3 separate regions of the Homo sapiens genome follow, and all the other regions are linked to region 1. The links are contacts of gene promoters, found by promoter capture Hi-C in blood cells and fetal thymus (Javierre and others, 2016). All regions are on one chromosome and are shown on one strand. The core of a region is centred on a gene start or on the middle of the fragment in contact, and the rest is flanking DNA. Distances in the headings are between cores, read along the strand shown. Region 1 holds the start of MYBPC3 (myosin binding protein C3). Region 2 overlaps MADD (MAP kinase activating death domain). Region 3 overlaps MADD (MAP kinase activating death domain).

Region 1 (3,668 bases), core at 638-3,137:
CCAGGCCATCAGTTCCCATGTCCTCTGCATCTGCCCTGAACAGCTCCAGGTCCATCCCTGCTCTGCCCCAGCCTTAGAGCAGCCCCTCAGACTGGGCTGCACTCCCCTCATCCACAGCTCCTGGGGCTTCCCGGCCGTCTGTGCAGGGTCATCTCCCCAGGGAGGTCTGCAGGGGGAGAGTGGGGTTGTGTCTTGTTCATCTCTCCCACCTACCCCATGGCTGGAACAAGCCAGGATGGCACATGGGGGTACTCAGAGAGGTCATGTGCAGAAAAGGGGGAAAGGGCGTTCCTGGCGGGGGGCACAGCCACAGCAAAGGCAAGAAAGTGTGAAAGCACCTCCTGTTCCCTGGATGGATGGAGAGTCGCTGGGCTGCCCCTCCCCCAGCAGCCCAAACCTCAGGGAAGGCTGATCAGGATCTTACCTGCCTCTATGACCTTGAGGTCGAACTTGACCTTGGAGGAGCCAGCAATGACTGCGTAAGATCCCTGGTCGGCAGGGCCCACTTCCCGCACTGTCAGCGTATGCCGTGTGCCCTCTGTGGCCAGGCCGTACTTGTTGCTGGCGCTGATGTCACTGCCTCCGCGCTGCCAGCGCACCTTCACTCCTGCCCGCTCTGTCTCGGCCTCGAACACGGCAGGGCTGCCTGCGGCCACTTCCACTGACCGTGGCTTCTTGCTAAAAGCTGAGACTGAAGGGCCAGGTGGAGGCTACAGCGGCCCCTGGTTGGAGCGTGCACCCCGCCCCTGCAGCCCCTCTCAGTAAATACTGTGCTAGCACTTTCTATGCATCCCCTCACGTAATACTCTACCAGTTCTCTGAGGTAGTTGCAGTTATTCTGTTCATTTCTCAGAGGAGGACACTGAGGCTCAGAGAAGCTAAGCGGCTCCTCCAAGATCACACAGCTAGCAGTCGGGAGAGCCAGGGCTGTGGTCCTGACCTCCCAACAAGACTTTTTCTGCATGTGTCCACTTTCCCTGCTTGGAGACACCCGTGATGAACCCAGCTCCCTTTCCCCCAACCATTTCGGGCCCTTGGCAGGGGGCGGGGAAGTCTGCCTACTTGGAATGTGGCCAAATTTGTCCTCCAAGGACCTCAGGCTGGGTATCAGCAACTGAGATAAAGCTGGCCTGGGAGGGCGCTGGGGGATGGGGACCTGGATCTCTGCCCTGGACAACCTTCATAAGGGCACAGCCCAGGCCCAGGTCCCTGGGCTGTGATTTTCCCTGCCCTTGGCCTGGGTTCAGGGGCTCCTGACTGTCCTCTCTCAGAGAAGAGGGGCTGTGTCACCCTCAACATGGGGGCCACACCGTACAGGCTCATGAAGCAGATAATGTCACAGCCAGGAGGAACCAACCCAATGCCACCACCACCCCCGGCACCCCAGGTTGGGAGACTGAGACCCATAGTGGGTAGAGACTGGTCTGAAGGCATGCCGTGAGCCTGGCTCAGCTCCATACTAAACGTGGGCTCTGTCCGCGGGGAACCTTGCTGTGGAAGGTGAAGGCAATGGGACAGGGAAGGGGTCCCTTTGCATTCTCAGAATGGGTTGACCCCGGGTGCTTCCTGTCTTGGCTGTGTCCCCTCTCTGCGTCCCTGACCTTGGGTTTACCTTCACCTCTCATCAGAGGGATGGGAAAAAGAAACCGAGAATCAAAAAAGGACCCTGGAGGACTGGCTGCCCCTGTCCTGGGGCTCAGAGGCCACGTCCTCGTCAACCCCCTCAAGAACTCCCTCCTAGCCCTGCTCCCCAATTGTAGACACCCCCCTGCTCCCACACTTAGACCCAACCCCAGTCCTAAAGCTACCTGGCTTCTTCCCCGGCTCAGGCATCCTGAGAGACGTCACACCAGGCACGAAGCAGGCACAGGTCACCCAAAGAGGGACTGAGTGGGGTCCTGTCCTTCCCACTATATATGGGGACCTCCCCCCTCCCCAGGCTCTGCTTATCTGCCTCCTGTCCAGCCACCTGCTAAATATAGATGAATTCCAGAGAGCTGAGGTCTCTCCAGGGAGAAGGTAGGGCCACATTGTCCCTGGCTGGCTCCTGTCCCTTCCCCCCTCACCCCCCGCAGCACAATTCTGCCTCCCCAACCTTTGGCAAGCCTCAGGGGTACTCCAAGCCCCGTGTGTGTCCCTCTTACAGCAAATTGTACGGTGGGAGCATGCTGGGCCCATAACCCTAAGGCTAACGGGTCAGGAGCATCCTCGCAGGCAGTTCAGGCAGTGGTCATGTCCACAGACCCTGGGGCCAGGGTGTCTCTGAGTCCTAGCACTGCCATCTCTTTAATCTCAAAGCACCTGGTTTCCTCATCTGTAAAGCGGGGTGGGTGAAAGCAGCACCCACTGCACAGGATTGTCACACGTATGAAGTGGGTTTATAATTTTAAAAATGTTAGGCCGGGTGTGGTGGCTCATCTGTAATCCCAGCACTTTGGGAGGCCGAGGCAGGCAGATTATTTGAGGCCAGGAGTTTGAGACCAGCCTGGGCAACATGGCAAAACCCCATCTCTACTAAAAAAATAAAAAATAAAATAAATACACACACACACACAAATTAGCCAGGTGTGGTGGTGTGGACCTGTAGTATCAGCTACCCAGGAGGCTGAGGTGGGAGGATCGCTTGAGTCCAAGGAGTTCCGGGCTGCAGTGAGCCAAAATCGCACCACTGCACTGCAGCCTGGGTGACAGAGTGATAATAATAATAAAAATATTATTTATTATTATTTTTTATTATTAATATCTCAAAGAATAATAATAAAAAAATAAAAATGGGCTGGGCGAAGTGGCTCACACCTGTAATCCCAGCACTTTGGGAGGCTGAGGCGGGCAGATCACTTGAGCTCAGGAGTTCGAGACCAGCCTGGGCAACATGATGAAACCCCATCTGTACAAAAAATACAAAAATCAGTCAGGCATGTGACGCACACCTGTAGTCCCAGATGCTCGGGAGGCTGAGGCAGGAGAATCACTTGAGCCCGGGGGGTCAGGGCTGCAGTGAGCCATGTTCGTGCCACTGCACTCCAGCCTGGGCAACAAAGTAAGACCCTGTCTCAAAAAAAAAAAAATAAAAATAGAAGAATGAAGACACAACACCATTTTGCCTTCTCTTGTGGCCCTGCAGTAGGACTAGGGAGCTGCAGGGTTGGGCTGCAGTGAGCCCTCTGGGGTTGAGGAGGTGTGGGGCGGGTATTTGTCCCTACGATAATGGCCCCAGAATCTGGGTTCCCTAAGGTCTTTGACAGCGTTGGGAAGTCCCTCACTCCCAGGCTGTCTACTGCCACTACTTGCTACCGTCTGGAGGAAAACACAGGACTTACAGGCTTCTCCGCTCAGCTTGGTCTGTTTCTCCCCTGCTGTGGCTAGGAGCTAGAAAGCAAATAGAACCTGGGGGTCCCACCAGGGATTCACTTGGGTCTAAAGTCCTGCTGGGCGTGCAGCTCGTGAGAACCCTTTGCGGCCCACAGGAGCTTTGGGGCTTAATTCCTGTCCTCGGAATGCTGAAGAGTATCCTCTTCCAGATAAGCAAGGCCTCCCACTCCATGTTGACGTGTCGGGACAGACCTGGAGTGTGATCCAACTTGGCCACTCAACGGCTGTGACCTTGGGGAAATAATTTGACCTCTACAAGCCTCAGTTTCCCATTCTATAAAATGGAGTGATATTAG
Region 2 (3,514 bases), core at 274-2,773, 34 kb before region 1:
TCACTTTCAGATTCACTCTTTTGGGAAGAATACTTAATGAGTGGTGCTATACGCTTCCTATTGCCTCATATGGTTGTCCCTCTCTTACACATCAGTGGGCTCAGATGTGGGCAACCTGATCTGCCCACCAGAAAGTTCCTCATTTGTCTTCTGATTTTGCCTATGGTATTTTTTGACACACATAAATTTTTTATTTGTATATAACTTTTTTTTTTTTTTGAGACAGAGTCTCTCTCTATCGCCCAGGCTGGATGCAGTGGCATGATCTCGGCTCACTGCAACCTATACCTCCCGGGTTCAAGCAGTTCTCCTGCCTCAGCCTCCCAAGTAGCTGGGTTTACAGGTGCCTGCCACCACACCCGGCTAATTTTTGTGTTTTTAGTAGAGATGGGGTTTTACCATGTTGGCCAGGGTGGTCTCGCACTCCTGACCTCAAGTGATCCACCCACCTCGGCCTCCCAAAGTGCTGGGATTACAGGTGTGAGCCATCACGCCTGGCTACTTTTATATAATTAAATTAATCAATAGTTTCTTTTACGGCTTCTGGATTTTGAGGCATGGTTAGAAAAAGCCTTACTCTCCAGGATTATAAAGGAAATTGGCCGTGTTTTCTTCATTTCTGTGTTTTTAATTCTGAAACAGACCTAAGTAATTTTAAGGACCAAATACAACTCCTATATATAAAGTAGTAAAATTTTGCCTATGTTATCTGTTCCCCTGTGGTTTAGCTGAATTTGAATATCACATTCACAGTTTTTTTGAACAGGTGGTCTACCAAACGCAAGAAGGGCTTACCCTGAAGCAGAAACATACATGTCAGTGTAGCCAAGAAGGAGTCATTTTCATGTCACCCTTTAAAGTGTTAGAATTTGGCTAGTTGCCTCTCAGAGCCTAGGGCTGACTTAGGACATCTGCACCACAGCAGAAGTGGCACATGACTCTTGCCCTTTTCTTTTCCTTTTAAAAAAAATATCTCCAGCAGATTCCTTGAACTACTCTTACTCTCACCACCGTACAAAGGGAGCCTCATGCTAAGTCTCTGGAGTGTGGGACTGGACCCATTACCCAAATAGATGCCTCTTCCTCGAAGTGGTGCCATGCCAGGGAAGAGTGCACCATGGTCACTGTGCCATCACCTGGCTCCTGTGAGGCTATTTGATTTAGCCTTTCTCAGAGCATAGCCTGCTTTTTGCATGATCAACTGGACAGCAGTTTGGGAATTTTTTTTTTTTTTTTTTTTTTTTTTTTTTTTTTTTGAGACAGAGTCTCACTCTGTTGCCCAGGCTGAAGTGCAGTGGTACAATCTTGGTTCACTGCAACCTCCACTTCCCAGGTTCAAGCGATTCTCCTGCCTCAGCCTCCTGAGTAGCTGGGACTACAGGCACATGCCATCATGTCTGGCTAATTTTTGTATTTGTAGTAGAGACGGGGTTTCACCATTTTGGCCAAGCTGGTCTCGAACTCCTGACCTCAAGTGATCTGCCCACCTCAGCCTCCCAAAGTGCTGGGATTACAGGTGTGAGCTGCCACACCTGGCCAAGGAAAATATATATATATATATAATTTTTTTTTTTTTTTTGGAGGTGGAGTCTTGCTCTGTCACCCAGGCTGGAGTGCAGTGGCACAATCTTGGCTCACTGCAACATCCACCCACCGACTTCAAGAGATTCTCCTACCTCAGACTCCCGAGTAGCTGGGACTACAGGCACGCATCACCACGCTTGGCTAATTTTTGGTATTTTTAGCAGAGATGGGGTTTTGCCATGTTGGCCAGGATGGTCTTGAACTCCTGACCTTAAGTGATCCGTCTGCCTTGGCCTCCCAAAATGCTAGGATTACAGGTGTGAGCCACCATACCCAGCCAAAGATTTTTAAAAATTGTCTTTGTTGCCCTTTTTTTAGTTACAGAAGTAAAACAGTATATGCTGTAAATGTTTCAAACCGTGCCAAAGTTAAAAAATAATTAAAAGTTTTACTCACTGCCTTTCAATCCTTTGTCCCAGAGGTAACCAGTAATGAAGAGTTTTATGTGACTCCTTTCAGATTATTGAAAATGCATATTTGTGCAAATATAATTTATTTATATGGAATTTTGTTTTTGCACTTACGAAAGTGGTATCAAATTACAAATATTGGGCTGGGCATGGTGGCTCACATGAGCCTGTAATCCCAGCACATTGGGAGGCCGAGGCAGGTGGATAACTTGAGGTCAGGAGTTCCAGACAAGCCTAGCCAACGTGGTGACACCCTGTTTCTACTAAAAATACAAAAATTAGCCGGGCGTGTTGGGCAGGCGCCTGCAATCCCAGCTACATGGGAGGCTGAGGCAGGAGAATCGCTTGAACCCGGAGGCGGAGGTTGCAGTGAGCCGAGATCATGCCACTGCTCTCCAGCCTGGGTGACAAAGCGAGACTCCATCGCAAAAAAAAAAAAAAAAAAAAAATTACAAATATTGTTAAATAATTTGCTTTTTTCACTTAATGATATACCTTTCCGTGTCTTTTTTTTTTTTTCTTTAATGGATGCTTAGCCATTAGATGTCGTATGGTGTACCATAATTGGTTTAACTAGTGCCTCTCACTATTTTTTAAAAAAATATTACTCATGCTGGGTGTGGTGGCTCACGCCTGTAATCCCAGCACTTTGGGAGGCCAAGGTGGGTGGATCACGAGGTCAAGAGTTCAAGATCAGCCTGGCCAAGATGGTGAAACCCTGCCTCTACTAAAAATACAAAAAATTAGCCAGGCGAGGTGGTGGGTGCTTGTAATCCCAGTTACTTGGGAGGCTGAGGCAGAGAATTGTTTGAACCTGGGAGGCGGAGGTTGCAGTGAGCCGAGATTGCACCACTTCACTCCAGCCTGGGCGACAGAGCAAGACTCCGTCTCAAAAAAAAAATTTAAAAAAATGAAATATATATTTATATATTACTCATTAGGCCAAGCATGTTGGCTCACGCCTGTAATCCCAGTACTTTGGGAGGCTGAGGCAGGAGGATTGCTTGAGCCCAGAGTTTGAGACCAGCCTGGGCAACATAGGGAGACCCTGTCTCTATAAAAAATTTAAAAATTAGTCATACATGTGGTGATGTATGCCTGTGGTACCAGCTACTGGGGAGGCTGAGGTGGGAGGTTCGCTTGAGCCCAGGAGGTCAAAACCAGCCTGGGCAACATAGGGAAACCCCGTCTCCACAAAAAATTTTAAAATAAGCTAGGCATGCTAGTGCATGCCTATGGTCCTAGCTACTGGGGAGGCTAAGTTGGGAGGATCCTTGAGCCTGGGAGGTCAAGGCTTCAGTGAGCTCTGATTACACCACTTCAGTCCATCCTGGGTGACAGAGCAAAACCCTGTCTCAAAAAATAATAATAATAATAATAATTGCTCATTGAATATCCTTGAACATATATTTTTGCACCCTCACATGAGAATTTCTATAGGATATAGTCCTAGACATGAAAATTTCAAGTCAAGCTTATATACGTTTAAAATTTCGGTAGATTTTGCCAAATTGCCATCC
Region 3 (3,690 bases), core at 338-2,837, 50 kb before region 1:
GCTCTAATGGTTTGTGGATTTTGTTTATCTTTACAAAGATGAACTTTTCATTTTGTTGATTATTAATTTATTTATTTTGAGATGGAGTTTTGCTCTTGTTGCCCAGGCTGGAGTGCAGTGGTGCAATCTTGGCTCACTGCAGTCTCCACCTCCCAGGTTCAAGTGATTCTTCTGCCTCAGCTTCCCAAGTAGCTGAGATTACAGGTGCCCACCACCACAACCGGCTAAATTTTTTTTTGTATTTTTAGTAGAGATGGGGTTTTGCCATGTTGGCCAGGCTGGTCTCAAACTCCTGGCCTAAGGTGATCCACCCATCTCAGCCTCCCAAAATGCTGGGATTATAGGCATGAGCCACCACGCCCGGCCTATTTTTTTAAGTCTCAAGTTTTATTTCTGCTCTGATCTTGATTATTTCTTCTAATTTTGGGTTTGGTTTGTTCTTGCTTTCACAATTCTTTGAGCTGCATCATTAAGTTGATTTGAAATCTTCCTACTTTTTTGATGTGACGTTTATTGCTATAAGCTTCTTTCTTAATACTGCTTTTGGTGTATCCCATAGGTTTTGGTATGCTGTGTTTTTATGTTCATTTGTGTGAAGAAATTTTTAAATTTCCTTCTTAATTTCTTTGTTGACCCATTGGTCACTCAGGAGCATATTGTTTAATTTCCATTTATTTGTATGATTTTAAAAGTTTCTTGTTATTTATTTCTAATTTTCAGAGCACAGTGTTCCTTTGTGGTCTGAAAAGATACTTGCTGTGATTTCAGTTTTCTTAAATTTCTCATTATACTTATTTTGTGGCCTCATATGTGGTCTGTCCTAGAGAATGTTCTGGGTGTTGATGAAAAGAATGTGTATTCTACACCTGTTGGATGGAATGTTCTGTAAATGTCTGTTAGGTCCATTTGGTCTAAAATGCAATCTAAATGTAAAATGTAGTATAAATCCGGTATTTCTGTGTTGATTTTCTGTCTAGATGATCTGTCCAATGCTGAGAGTGGGGTATTGAAGTCCCCAACTGTTATTGTATTGGTGTGTATCTCTCCCTTTAGATCTAATAATACTTGCTTTATATAGCTGTTCTGTGTTGAATGCATATATATTTGCAATTGTTATATCCTCTTATTGTTATTACATAATTACTTTCTTTGTCTCTTTTTAGGTTTTTTTTGTGTGTGTGAGACAGAGTCTCACTCTGTCGCCCAGGCTGGAGTGCAGTGGCGCAATCTCCGCTCACTGCAACCTCCACCTCCTGGGTTCAAGCGATTCTCCTGCCTCAGCCTCCCAAGTAGCTGGGACTACAGGTGTCTGCTGCCATGCCCAGCTAATTTTTGTATTTTTAGTAAAGACAGGGTTTCACCATGTTGGCCAGGCTGGTCTCAAACTCCTGACCTTGTGATCTGCCCGCTTCGGCCTCCCAAAGTGCTGGGATTACAGGCGTGAGCCACCGTGCTCAGCCTCTTTTTAGTTTTTGACATAAAGTCTGTTTTATCTGATATAATTATAGCTACTCTTGCTTGCTTTTGGTTTCTATTTGTGTGAAATATCTTTCTCCATCCCTTCACTTTCAGTCTGTATGTGTCTTTGCTAGTGAAATGAGTTTCTTGTAGGCAGCATATAGTTAGGTCAAGTATTTTTTTTTTTTAATCCATTCAGCCAGTCTACCCCTTTTAAGTGAGGGAATTTAATCTATTTACATTCAAGGTTGTTATTGATAGTGTGGACTTACTTCTGTTGTTTTGTTAATTGTTTTCTGATTATTTTGTATGTCCTTTGTTTCTTCCTCTCATTTATCATTATGGTTTGGTGGTTTTCTGTAGAGATAAGGTTTGATTCTTTTCTTTTTCTCCTTTGTGTGTCTGTTCTACAAGTGGATTTCATACTTTTGTGTATTTTCATGATAGTAATTATCATCTTTTTACTTCCAGATGTAGGACTCCCTTGAGCATGTCTTGTAAGGGTGTGATGACTTCCTCATTTTTTTTTTCATGTCTGGGAAAGACTTAGTTTATCCTTCATTTCTGAAGCACAACTTTGCTGGGTATAGTATTCTTGACTGAGATTCTTTTTCTTGCAGCGCTTTGAATATATCATCCCATTCTCTACTGGCTTGTAAAGTTTCTGCAGAGAAATCTGTTAGTTTAATAGAGATTCCCTTAAATGTGACTTAACACTTTTCTCTTGCTGTTTTTTTTTTTTTTTTTTTTGAGACGGAGTCTCACTCTGTCACCCAGGCTGGAGTACAGTGGTGCAATCTCGGCTCACTGCAAGCTCCGCCTCCTGGGTTCACACCATTCTACCTCAGCCTCCTGAGTAGCTAGGACTAAGGTGCCTGCTACCATGCCTGGCTAATTTTTATGTATTTTTAGTAGAGACGGGGTTTCACCATGTTAGCCAGGATGGTCTCGATCTCCTGACCTCGTGATCTGCCTGCCTCGGCCTCCCAAAGTGCTGGGATTACAGGCGTGAGCCACTGCACCCGGCCTTCTCTGGCTGTTTTTAGAATTCTCTCTTTGACTTTTGACAATTTGACTGTAATGTACCTTGGAGAGGCCTTTTTTTTTTTTTTTTTTGAGACAGTCTCACTCTGTCACCCAGGCTGGAGTGTAGTAGTGTGATCTCAGCTCACTGCAACCTGCGCCGCTTGGGTTCAAGCTTTTCTCCTGCCTCAGCTTCCTGAGTAGCTGGGATTACAGGCATGCACCACCACGCTCGGCTAATTTTTTTGTATTTTTAGTAGAGATAGGATTTCACCGTGTTGGTCAGGCTGGTCTCGAACTCCTGACTTCAAATGATCTGCCCGCCTTGGCCTCCCAAAGTGCTGGGATTACAGGCGTGAGCCACCGCATCTGGCTGGAGAGGACTTTTTTGGGTTGAATCTGTTTGGGGACTTTTGAGCTTCCTGGATCTGGCTGTCCATCTCTCTCCCCAGACTTGGGAAGTTTTCAGCTATTATTTCATTAAATAAGTTTTTTATGCCTTTCCCCTTCTCTCTTTGGAAATCCAATAATATGAATATTTGTTTACTTAATGAGATCCCCTAAGTGTTGTAGACCTTCTTGACTGTTTTCCATTCTAACTTTTTTCCCTCTGACTAATTTCGAATGACTTATCTTCAAATATAGAGTCATTCTTCTGCTTGATCAAGTCTGCTGTTGTAGTTCTCTATTGTATTTTTTCCTTTTTTTTTTTTTTGAGACGGAGTTTCGCTCTTGTTGCCTAGGCTGGAATGCAATGGCACTATCTCGGCTCACCGCAACCTCTGACTCGTGGGTTAAAGCAATTCTCCTGCCTCAGCCTCCCAAGTAGCTGGGATTACAGGCATGCGCCACCACACCTGGCTAATTTTGTATTTTTTAATAGGGACGGGGTTTCTCCATGTTGCTTCGGCTGGCCTTGAGCTCCCAACCTCAGGCGATCCACCCACCTCACCTCCCAAAGTGTTGGGATTACAGGTGTGAGCCCCCACGCCTGGCCCTCTATTGTATTTTTTAAACTTTGTTCATTGAATTATTCAGCTGCAAGATTTCTGTTTTTTTGTTATGATTTTTATCTCTTTGTTGAATTTCTAATTCATATCATGAACTGTTCTTCTGATTTTGTTGAATCATCTATCTGTATTTTCTTGTATCTCATTGCATTTCCTTAAGATCATTACTTTTAATTTATTTTCTGGCAATTAATTGATT

Evidence for each region. Contacts are between HindIII fragments. The CHiCAGO score rates a contact against its expected background, and 5 or more counts as called.
Region 2: a contact is called between a fragment that was not itself captured here and the fragment with the promoter of MYBPC3 in region 1, in 1 of 17 cell types (erythroblasts). The highest score is 5.9, in erythroblasts.
Region 3: a contact is called between a fragment that was not itself captured here and the fragment with the promoter of MYBPC3 in region 1, in 1 of 17 cell types (M2 macrophages). The highest score is 5.8, in M2 macrophages.

Annotation. Positions count from the first base shown.
Region 1 is chr11:47,350,815-47,354,482 of GRCh38, forward strand. MYBPC3 (myosin binding protein C3) reads right to left here and starts at 1,888. Exons shown (of 35, transcript NM_000256.3): 1 at 1,809-1,888; 2 at 425-691. The coding sequence starts at 1,833. RefSeq lists enhancers at 1-531, 532-1,512. The HindIII fragment of the contact is 20,166 bases long and covers 1-3,668 here.
Region 2 is chr11:47,317,570-47,321,083 of GRCh38, forward strand. The region is part of intron 30 of MADD (MAP kinase activating death domain); the gene reads left to right. Among named protein-coding and RNA genes, the nearest start is that of MYBPC3, 33 kb to the right of the region's middle. The HindIII fragment of the contact is 3,885 bases long and covers 1-3,466 here.
Region 3 is chr11:47,301,052-47,304,741 of GRCh38, forward strand. All of the region lies in intron 24 of MADD (MAP kinase activating death domain), which reads left to right. Among named protein-coding and RNA genes, the nearest start is that of MADD-AS1, 31 kb to the left of the region's middle. The HindIII fragment of the contact is 2,133 bases long and covers 522-2,654 here.